2 separate regions of the Homo sapiens genome follow, and region 1 is linked to region 2. Evidence: promoter capture Hi-C in human tissues and cell types (Jung and others, 2019). All regions are on one chromosome and are shown on one strand. The core of a region is centred on a gene start or on the middle of the fragment in contact, and the rest is flanking DNA. Distances in the headings are between cores, read along the strand shown.

What was found. Contacts are between HindIII fragments. The study calls those that stand out against the background at their distance.
Region 1: a contact is called between a fragment that was not itself captured here and the fragment with the promoter of MED9 in region 2, in 1 of the 25 tissues and cell types used here (dorsolateral prefrontal cortex).

The regions. Positions count from the first base shown.
Region 1 is chr17:17,086,855-17,091,347 of GRCh38, forward strand. All of the region lies in intron 3 of MPRIP (myosin phosphatase Rho interacting protein), which reads left to right. Among named protein-coding and RNA genes, the nearest start is that of MPRIP, 47 kb to the left of the region's middle. RefSeq lists an enhancer at 915-1,416. The HindIII fragment of the contact is 4,974 bases long and covers 1-4,196 here.
Region 2 is chr17:17,475,160-17,479,592 of GRCh38, forward strand. It overlaps MED9 (mediator complex subunit 9), which reads left to right and starts at 1,841. Exons shown (of 2, transcript NM_018019.3): 1 at 1,841-2,106. The coding sequence starts at 1,883. RefSeq lists an enhancer at 1,845-1,944. The HindIII fragment of the contact is 13,264 bases long and covers 1-4,433 here.

The DNA of each region.
Region 1 (4,493 bases), core at 460-2,959, 390 kb before region 2:
AAGATGGATGTTCTCTGGAAACTGGAGGCTGAGCTTTAAGCCCCCTCCCTTCCTTTTGTCATAGTTGGGAGGTTGGGGGAGAAGAGCTAATGACAGGTCCGGGAAGGGCTTGGGACCCAGTCTTATAAGTCTCTTGGACCCGGAACTGTTAGGCAGGGGCAGGTTCTGCCTTTGGGAGCTTTCTTGTTGTTTGCACCTCTGCCCAGAGGCCCAAGTGACATTTCCCACACTGAAAGAATCAGGGAATGGAAGCCAGCAAAGGTTAATCATGGGACTGTGTGGACCAAAAACAGCCAACTCCTGAGGGTGACAGTTGGGGGTTCCCACTGTGACCTGATCCAGACCTTCCATTTTGTAGTGAGGAAGCTTAGCTAGGGGGAGGGGGAGGGAGTGACTGAACCACAGATGTGGACAAGCAGCCGGGTCCCTGGATCTCCTGTCCCGACTTAGAGCCTGGGAGTTGCCCTTCAGGGAAGGAAAGAGGGAGAGGGAAGTGTGTGGGGCAGTTTGAATGTTCTGTGCCTCCAGTATTAGATGTTCTGTACCTCCAGTGTTGGAGTCATACGTGGATGGCTGAGCCCTGTAGAGGGAAGAAGTTGGAGCAGAACGTGCCAGAGTGAGCAGGCAAAGAGGATCAGAGGAAGGGACCTCTGCAGGTACTGAGAGGGCTCTGCAGGTCACCCTGGGTCATTCTGGAGAGCCAAGAGAAGACACAGGTTGGCCCTGGCCAGACGCGAGTCCTCCCTGTGTTCCTAACCCGAGGACACCTGTCAGAGCATGCGGAGCACCTTGCCCTTAACTTCCACGAGGATCTCCCTCTACAGGACGGTGAGCGCCTCTAGGCAGCACTGGTGTCTGCCTGCGTAGACAGGGCACATGTTGGTTGGCTGGCGAATCAGGCAGCTGTCCTCCCCAGCTCTTTCTTGCTTGAGTTTCTGATGTAAAGATTTCAGGTAGGCCACTCCCAAAAGTCCCCCTTCTTTGAATCTCAGGCCGCACTGAGAGGATTTGGTGACCTCAGGTGCCCAGTGAGTGCCTTTCTGTCTCATCAGGACTGTCCCGTGCGCTTACCTTCCTGTTACATAAGTGGTGAGTCAAGGACACAAAATGGGAATTAGCTGCCAGCCTGTGTTCAGGGCTATAATGAGATACCCACATTCTCTCTCTGCCTTCCCTGTGTTGCCTGAGTGGAGTGACTGCTGGCCACCCACAATTGATTATCAAGGGGCTGAAGAGGGGTTCCACCTGGTTATCCACTTAGGTGCTCTCTGTTCAGACTTTTGCCATGTGCACAGCTCTTTCAGTGATGGAAGGTGATGGGAGCGGCGAGAGCTGTCGTGAGGGTAAAGGGGTTTCTGTGGCCCACACCCCGCACTGGGGAGGCAGCCAGGAAGATGGGCTGTGATTGGCACCCTTGCTGGTCTATCTTCAGAGCTGTGGGTGGACTTCTCTGCAGCAGCTGTGACGGTACCCTGCAGCGTGAAGGCTCGTGATAACGTACTGGGCGTCTCCCTCCCACACAGAGAGAAATGACTTTAGATATTAAGAAAGTGAAAAGCTTGGAATAGTTGGTTAGGAAACTAATTAAGTAAGAGCGGGGAAAGAAGTGTCAAAAAAAGTCATTTCATGGGAGGTGCAACAGAAAATATTTAGGGTTGAAAAAGCAAAGCCACATGGCTGGTGCTAGTGTCTTCACGTGTTTGTGCAGTGCTCACACACTTGCACAAACAGGGCTGGCAGCATGGAGCCAGACTGCAAAGTCCCCCAGGGGCACATCCCTTCCACTCTCACCTTTTAGGCTTCCCTTGCTCTGCCCCCTGCTGAGATCCCCACCTGCCTGGCCATGTCTTTTGCCTGGGGCATTCCTGGAAAATATATCATGTCCAAAAACAGTCTGATGAGCTGATCCACGTAGGGCACCACTTCTGGCAGGCAATGTAGTATGTTAGTGTCTTAGCCTCTCCTGGCCTCTGCAAGACTGTTTTTCAGAAAAATCTTTTCTTTGGCCGGGAAGGAAATGTTCTTTATGGTGGGGAAAACTCTCTGAACCCGGGGAGCAGTTGCACTGGTGGGATCTCAGAGATGCAGGTCAGCAGCACAGGGACCTTAGGAAGGAGGTGTCCTTCACCTTATGCCATGTACTGGCCTGAGGGCTGGTCCAGCCCACACACAGGCACGGACCAGTCACTTGCAAACACCTGCCCTCAGTGTGTCAGAATCGAACTCCAGGGTGGCTTCCTTTGTGGGAGGTGCCAGTCACAGCACACAACATGGCAGGTGTGTTTGTTTCCTGTGGCCACTGTAACAAGTTGCCACAAACTTAGTGGCTTAAAACAACACATCTTTGTTCTCTGATGGCTCTGGAGGTTGAGAGTCCAAAATGAGTACCACTTAGCTAAGGTCCAGATGTGAGCAGGGCAGCTTCCTTCTGAGGTCCCGGGGGAGAATCCCCTCTCCACTGTTTGCAGGCTCCAGTGGCCACCTGCCTTCCTTGGCTCGTGGCCTCTTCCTGTCACCACTACAGTCTCTTGCTCCTGTCATCACATTTCCTTATCCTCTTTGTCACATTTTCCTCTGCCTCCCTCTTAGATCAGAATCTGGATGACTTTTTCTTTCATTTTTTATTTTTTAGAGATTGGGTTTTTTTTTGTCACCTATCCTGGAGTGCAGTGGCGCAGTCATAGCTCACTGCAGCCTTGAGCTCCTGGGCCCAAGTGATCTTCCTACCTGAGCCTTTCGAGTATCTGGGATTACAGATGCTCCGGTGTTGAGCTCTGGGGAGTTCAGCAGGGCTAAGTAGGACTTGTGGGGGTGCTGCTAGGTGTGAGGTGTAGGCGTGAGAAACGGGGAAAGGAAGATGGGGCCACCAGAGACTGCCCTGATGGATGACATAGTCACCACCTAGGTATCAGCATCACCCCACTTCCAGAGCATTTGTGTTTTCAGTGTGAAGCAGGATCAGGGAATGTCATTGCTGGAAAGGACCTGGAAGAGCCAGCCCCGTCCTCAGTTGGGGGCGATGGAGAAGTGGCTTTTGCTCCGGTTGGGGCAGTGTGGAGCCTGGCACTGCAGAGCTTTGAAGGTTTCCCTGACTCAAGTCAGCGTGGAAGCTGAGCCCCTCAATGTGTAGAGCGCAGCAGACACGACGCCTGGCCTCCTGTTCACTGATTCAACCCCAGGGGGAGGTGGGGAGACGGAAAAGACTCCTTGTCCTTGAGCAGGGTCGTCTTGTTGGTGAGACTGGTTTTGTGTTTCTCACGTGTGAGGTGCAGACAGGCATGGTGTTGCAGACCAAGACCTTGGGGCACGAAGGTGAAGGAACAGGGACAGAGCAGGTGGAGGAGGAGAGAGACTCCCTGGAGCCACAAGGCTCTGAAGGACTGTGCAGTCCCAGCTGTGACCTACCTCCAACCAGCCGCACTAAGGCAGGCTTGTCCCGCAGGGGCAGAAGGGTCTTACGGCCCCAACCCGTCCCCTGTCCTCATGTAGCTAATGCTTGCTTTTGGGCTTCTGTCTGTTCCTCTGCCTCGATGGAAGGGTGGTAGATGGGCTGCTCCACAAAGTCTAATAAGCAGTGAGTCATTGTCTTCCTCTGAGCCCACCAGGGTTGCACCTGGTGGCTGGGGAATGCTTTGTGATGCCCAGGGCCCAGCTGAGAAGCAGTGGTGTTGGGGTTCATCAGTGGTGTTGGCCGTCTGTCTGCAGGGTGCAGTGGCTGTCTTGGGGCAAAAGTCCAAGGCTCACTTCCTCTGGACACTGAGTACAGTTTTTGGAACCAGCAAGCGTCTGTGATCAGTGTAGAGGTAAAAAGAAATCACACACAAACCACAGTGCTAGCGTCCTCACTGTGTTTGCATTTAATCCTGAAAATGGTCGCATGAGGAGAGCAGTAACTTGCCCAAAATCAGGGTTTTTCTGGGCGATCTGGGGGTTTTGCGTTGAGCCACAGGTTGGAGACCTGGTGGGTGGAGCTACTCTGGCTCCATTCCCATTCTGTGAGCTGGGGCCCAGACACGCCCTAGCCTGAAGGTTTTGGAGCCTTACCTGGTTAATGTTTGAAGATCTCGGCTATGCCAGGATAAACTGGAGCAGGTATTTACACCTCTGCCAAGTGATGGGCCCTAACGCTGTCAGGTGGCCAATACCTGTGGAGCGTGCCGGCCACAGGGGAACACAGGGCCAGGAGTCCTCTTGGCTTCATCCCCCAAGACAGCTGAGGTTTGAAGATCTCGGGGGCGGTTGGGGAGGGGGTGGGGTTTGACTTGCACCTGGATATGGAGGACATGCTTGCCTGGCCCTGACTTCCAGTGGGTTTTCAGCAAGAGACCCACCGAGGACGACCATATATTCTGGTCCCAGCAGCGGACCCAGAGGCCGTTCTAGCTGTATCTGAAGGGGCCATGAGAACGGTAGGTGTGGGGTGGTCTGGGAAGGAGGGTCTTTGGGGACATCATCTAGTCCAGCCCTCACCTTTGACAGATGAGGAAACTGAG
Region 2 (4,433 bases), core at 591-3,090:
GATCCTGACATCCATCTTCTAGACCTCTGTCTGTGGATTGAGACAGTGACTGTAACTCTGTTCCCTGTATCTACTTTTACTCCATGGTAGTTGTGGTAATTACTATTATTATTACTATTACTATATCATCTTTCCCCAGATGACTCCAAGGGTATACAGTCTCTTCAAGCACATCTGGCCTTTTTCTCCTCCATGCTCAACCAGAACTCTTGAACTTTCCCTTAGTTGGAGAGGTCAATGGTTAGAAGGAAGAAAACTCCGCAACCCACTCCCTCCCTTTGCTCTCTCTCTGGGGCACCGTGGGCAGCTCTTGCTGCAGAGAGCTGTGCTGAGGCCCTTTACTACAGAACCTGTACAGCGCACCCTCCAACAGCACTTCCATCTATGGTCCTACTCCCCAAGGATCTGCCTCCGCACAGCCCTCCCAATGTGCCTGAAAATATCAGCATTGATCCTTTCCCTGGCCACCTTGCTCTTAAGGCTCCTGTTCATCATGCTATGTGGATGTGGACCTCCTCGCCTCTCTGTACTGCCCATGATGGTGGATTACAGCAGAATGGGCTCACCAGTTGACAGCTTTCCCCACTCATGTCTTCTACTCACTAGCTAAGCTTGGGGTGGGTGTCCCCATTGCCCGGAAAATTACTACACAGCCCTCATATCAAACTTGTTTTGAGAAGCATAACCATAAACCCATCTTTGGCCTATGATCCTAGGGAGTCCTCATGCCAACAAGACCTTTTGGGGTCAGCCACGCATGTGAAGTTAGAATGCAGTTTAGGCTGTGCCATGAATCTGAACTAAATATGATTTTAGGGGTGAGGAAACTGGGACCTAGGGGCTTGGGGAACTGGCCCGAAGGTATGGAGAGTACCTGACCTTGTCGTTCTTCCAGGATATGATATTTACTCCTGGCACCAATCCCCTCTACCTTGTACTGAAAGCAAGGACAGCCTGCCTGCAACCACACATACAGGTGGCCATCCAGCAGGTGCATACTAAATGTGTGTTGAGTTGAATTATTAGACTCTTTCTAAGCAACCTTGCAGCATTGAAGGGACCGCAATCCCTTTGCCTCTGCGTCCTTAGGGCTAAACTCGAGGTCTCGATGTCTTGCACTGTGGGCTGGGCCGGGTTTGGTGCCTCACCCAGCAGGTAAGTGCTGTCTACGCCTCCCACAGGTCCAGTGGCTCCTCTCCAGACTTGGGTGCACTGGGCCAGGCTGCACCTTACTAATCTCAAGGCTTCCTGTGTTTGTGGCTTTGGGGCCCTCTTCATCGTGTGAATAGGAATAAGAAGATTGTTATTTCTGGCCGGGTGCAGTGGCTCACGCCTGTAATCCCAGCACTTTGGGAGGCCGAGACGGGCGGATCACCTGAGGTGGGGAGTTCGAGACCAGCCTGATCAACATGGAGAAACCCCGTCTCTACTAAAAATATAAAATTAGCCGGGCGTGGTGGTGCATGCCTGTAATCCCAGCTACTAGGGAGGCTGAGGCAGGAGAATCGCTTGAACCCGGGAGGCGGAGGTTGCGGTGAGCCGAGATCGCGCCACTGCACTCCAGCCTGGGCAACAAGAGCGAAATTCCGTCTCAAAAAAAAAAAAAAGATTGTTATTTCTGAAATAAACCCCTATTTCTCACTATTTAATAATTTAGCAATCTTGACTCACAATCCAAATCCAGGCACCCCAGACCCACCCACGGCCCGTTGCCTAGCAACAGCCTCCCCACCCCCGCCTCCGCGCCTTTTCCCGCCGACTGCCCAGTGCGCACGCTCAGAGCCTTCCTCCACACCCCGCCCCTGCAGGGCGCGCGGTGGTGACGTGTAGAGTGCGCGACGCTTTTGGCGACCCGACCTCTGGCTAACCTACCCCCGGAGCCATGGCCTCTGCTGGGGTGGCAGCCGGGCGACAGGCGGAGGATGTATTGCCGCCAACGTCCGACCAGCCGCTGCCTGACACCAAGCCGCTGCCGCCTCCTCAGCCGCCGCCGGTCCCTGCGCCTCAACCGCAGCAGTCGCCGGCGCCACGGCCTCAGTCACCTGCCCGCGCGAGGGAGGAAGAGAACTACTCCTTTTTACCTTTGGTTCACAACATCATCAAATGGTAAGAACCTAGGAGAGGACCAGGCCCCATACTCCCTCCAGCTTCTCCTCTCAGCCGTTTCAGAGCTGCAAGAGGCCTTGGCGCTCTGGGGCACGCCCCCGTTTCACAGATGGGGAAACTCAGACCCAGAGCGGGAAGAGGCCTTTCCCAAGACCACAGAGACATTCCATGAGTTAAGCAAACGATTTGAGCCTCGAGAGGTGCGATATCCTTAAGAATGAAGCCAGCTTAGAGACTAAATGCAGACTCTTGTCCAGCGGCTCAAATGTTCATCCCAGCGATCTTGAGCAAATTAAATCTCTTTAAGCCTCAGTTTTCTCACCTTTAATGTTGGTAATACTCACTTTAGTTCCTTAGTTCAGCAAACTCAACAGATAAGCATCATCTTCCCTGTGCCAAGTGCTACGGGATGGACGCAGTAAAAGGGGCCAACTTTTCACCCCCAAAGGTTTAGATAGAAGGAAAAAAAGACATGATTGGGAATAACCCACAATTCAAAAAGATTGAGACGGGAGTGGTGGCGATGGGAAACATTAGACTAAGCAGAAACACAGAAGTTGCCTCAGATGATTAGACCCACTTGTACTGACTTTGTTCTAACAGTACCAAAGGAAATAATTGTTGTCATCCTTTTGGCCAGCCTTCAGGGTAGCCTGAGTTTTCAAAGTGACTCTGTAGAGGAAAAACCAAAAACAAAAACACAAAAGTCTCACTGATCCTTATGTTTGCCTAAATTATTATTTTTTTTGAGAGAGGGTCTCGCTCTGTCACCCAGACTGGAGTACAGTGGCGTGATCTCGGCTCACTGCAGCCTCAACCTCCTGGCCTCAAGCCATCCTCCCACCTCATCCTCCCAAGTAACCGGAACCACAGGCATGAGCCATGGCACCCAGCGAATTTTTGTATTTTTTGTAGAGATGGAGTTTCACCATGTTGCCCAGGCTGTAAATTATTTTCATTATGTTACTTCACTGTATATCCACGTGATACTAGGTGTAAACCCCTAGGCTTGTAACTCTTACTCAACCATTAAAGACCAAAACAAAGTAAATTAAAAGAAAATTACGATTCCAGTAACATTCAGGTGAACATGAATGTGCTCTTCACTGTTTTACTGAAATGGAATTGTTACAACGTGAAGGTCTTGACTGTTAGTGGCCCACCCACTTTTGAGTTTAAGCAAATTAGATTCACTTGCTGTGGGATGACCTGATGCTCTTCTGCCACTTTTCAAATAACTACAAAGGCTTTGTTCTCACATTAGACCCTGGCTTCATTTGGTTTCACTTGGTGTTTAAATACTGTTTATAGGGGCCAGGCATGGTGTCTCATGCCTGTAATCCCAGCACTTTGGGAGGCCAAGGCGGGCGGATCACGAGGTCAGAGTTTGAGACCAGCCTCGTCGACATGGCAAAACCCCATCTCTACTAAAAACACAAAAATTAGCCGGGTGTGGTGGCGGCTGCCTGTAATCCCAGCTACTCAGGAGGCTGAGGCAGGAGAATCACTTGAACCCGGGAGGTGGAGGTTGCAGTGAGCCGAGATCATGCCATTGCACTCCAGCCTGGGCAACAAGAGCAAGACTCTGCCTCAAAAAAAAAAAAAAAGTAATGCTTATAGGATAAGGCAGCCTATTCAGTTTTCGTGAGCCTGTGATAATGATCATAGACAGAAATACATATGGAGCCCCTGTAATCCTAGGGCAGTGCTGGATTATAAAGGGTTTATTCTGATTAACCCTAGTTTACTGGTTTTAAGAAAAATGTGGAAAAATGAAAACACAAAATGTACACATTCACAAGGACAGCTCTTGAACTCCCCAAGAGTATATTCTTGAGCCCTGGTAGAGCAGCTGGGTTGGGTTGGCCTTAAAAGATGTAGTAGTAAGTTATACTAGAGAGAACAGGCTTTGAAGTTAGACAGCCCTGTGTTCAAATCTGTGTACTGACATTTTCTTGCCTTCTAATCTTGATATAAATGCCTAACCTTTCTAGGCCATAATCTTCTTATCTCTAATATGTCCATAGTGGACCTCAAAAGAGAGGTTCAGATTATGTCATAGCTCTATAATGTGCTGACTGGGTGACCTTGGCAAGTAGCTTAGCTTCTCTGAGCCTGTTTTTCTCTTGTGAAATGGGAATGCTTATGTCATAGGATTGTTGGGAGATGTACTCAGGAGTGTACCTGTGAAACATAGTGGGTTGATCACATGTGCTTGTCTCTGTTCCATCTAAAAGGACAGAGAAGGGAGTTTAAAAAAAAAAAAAAGCATAAAACCTTCAGACATGGTGGTTCATGCCTGTAATCCCAACACTTTAGGAGGCTGA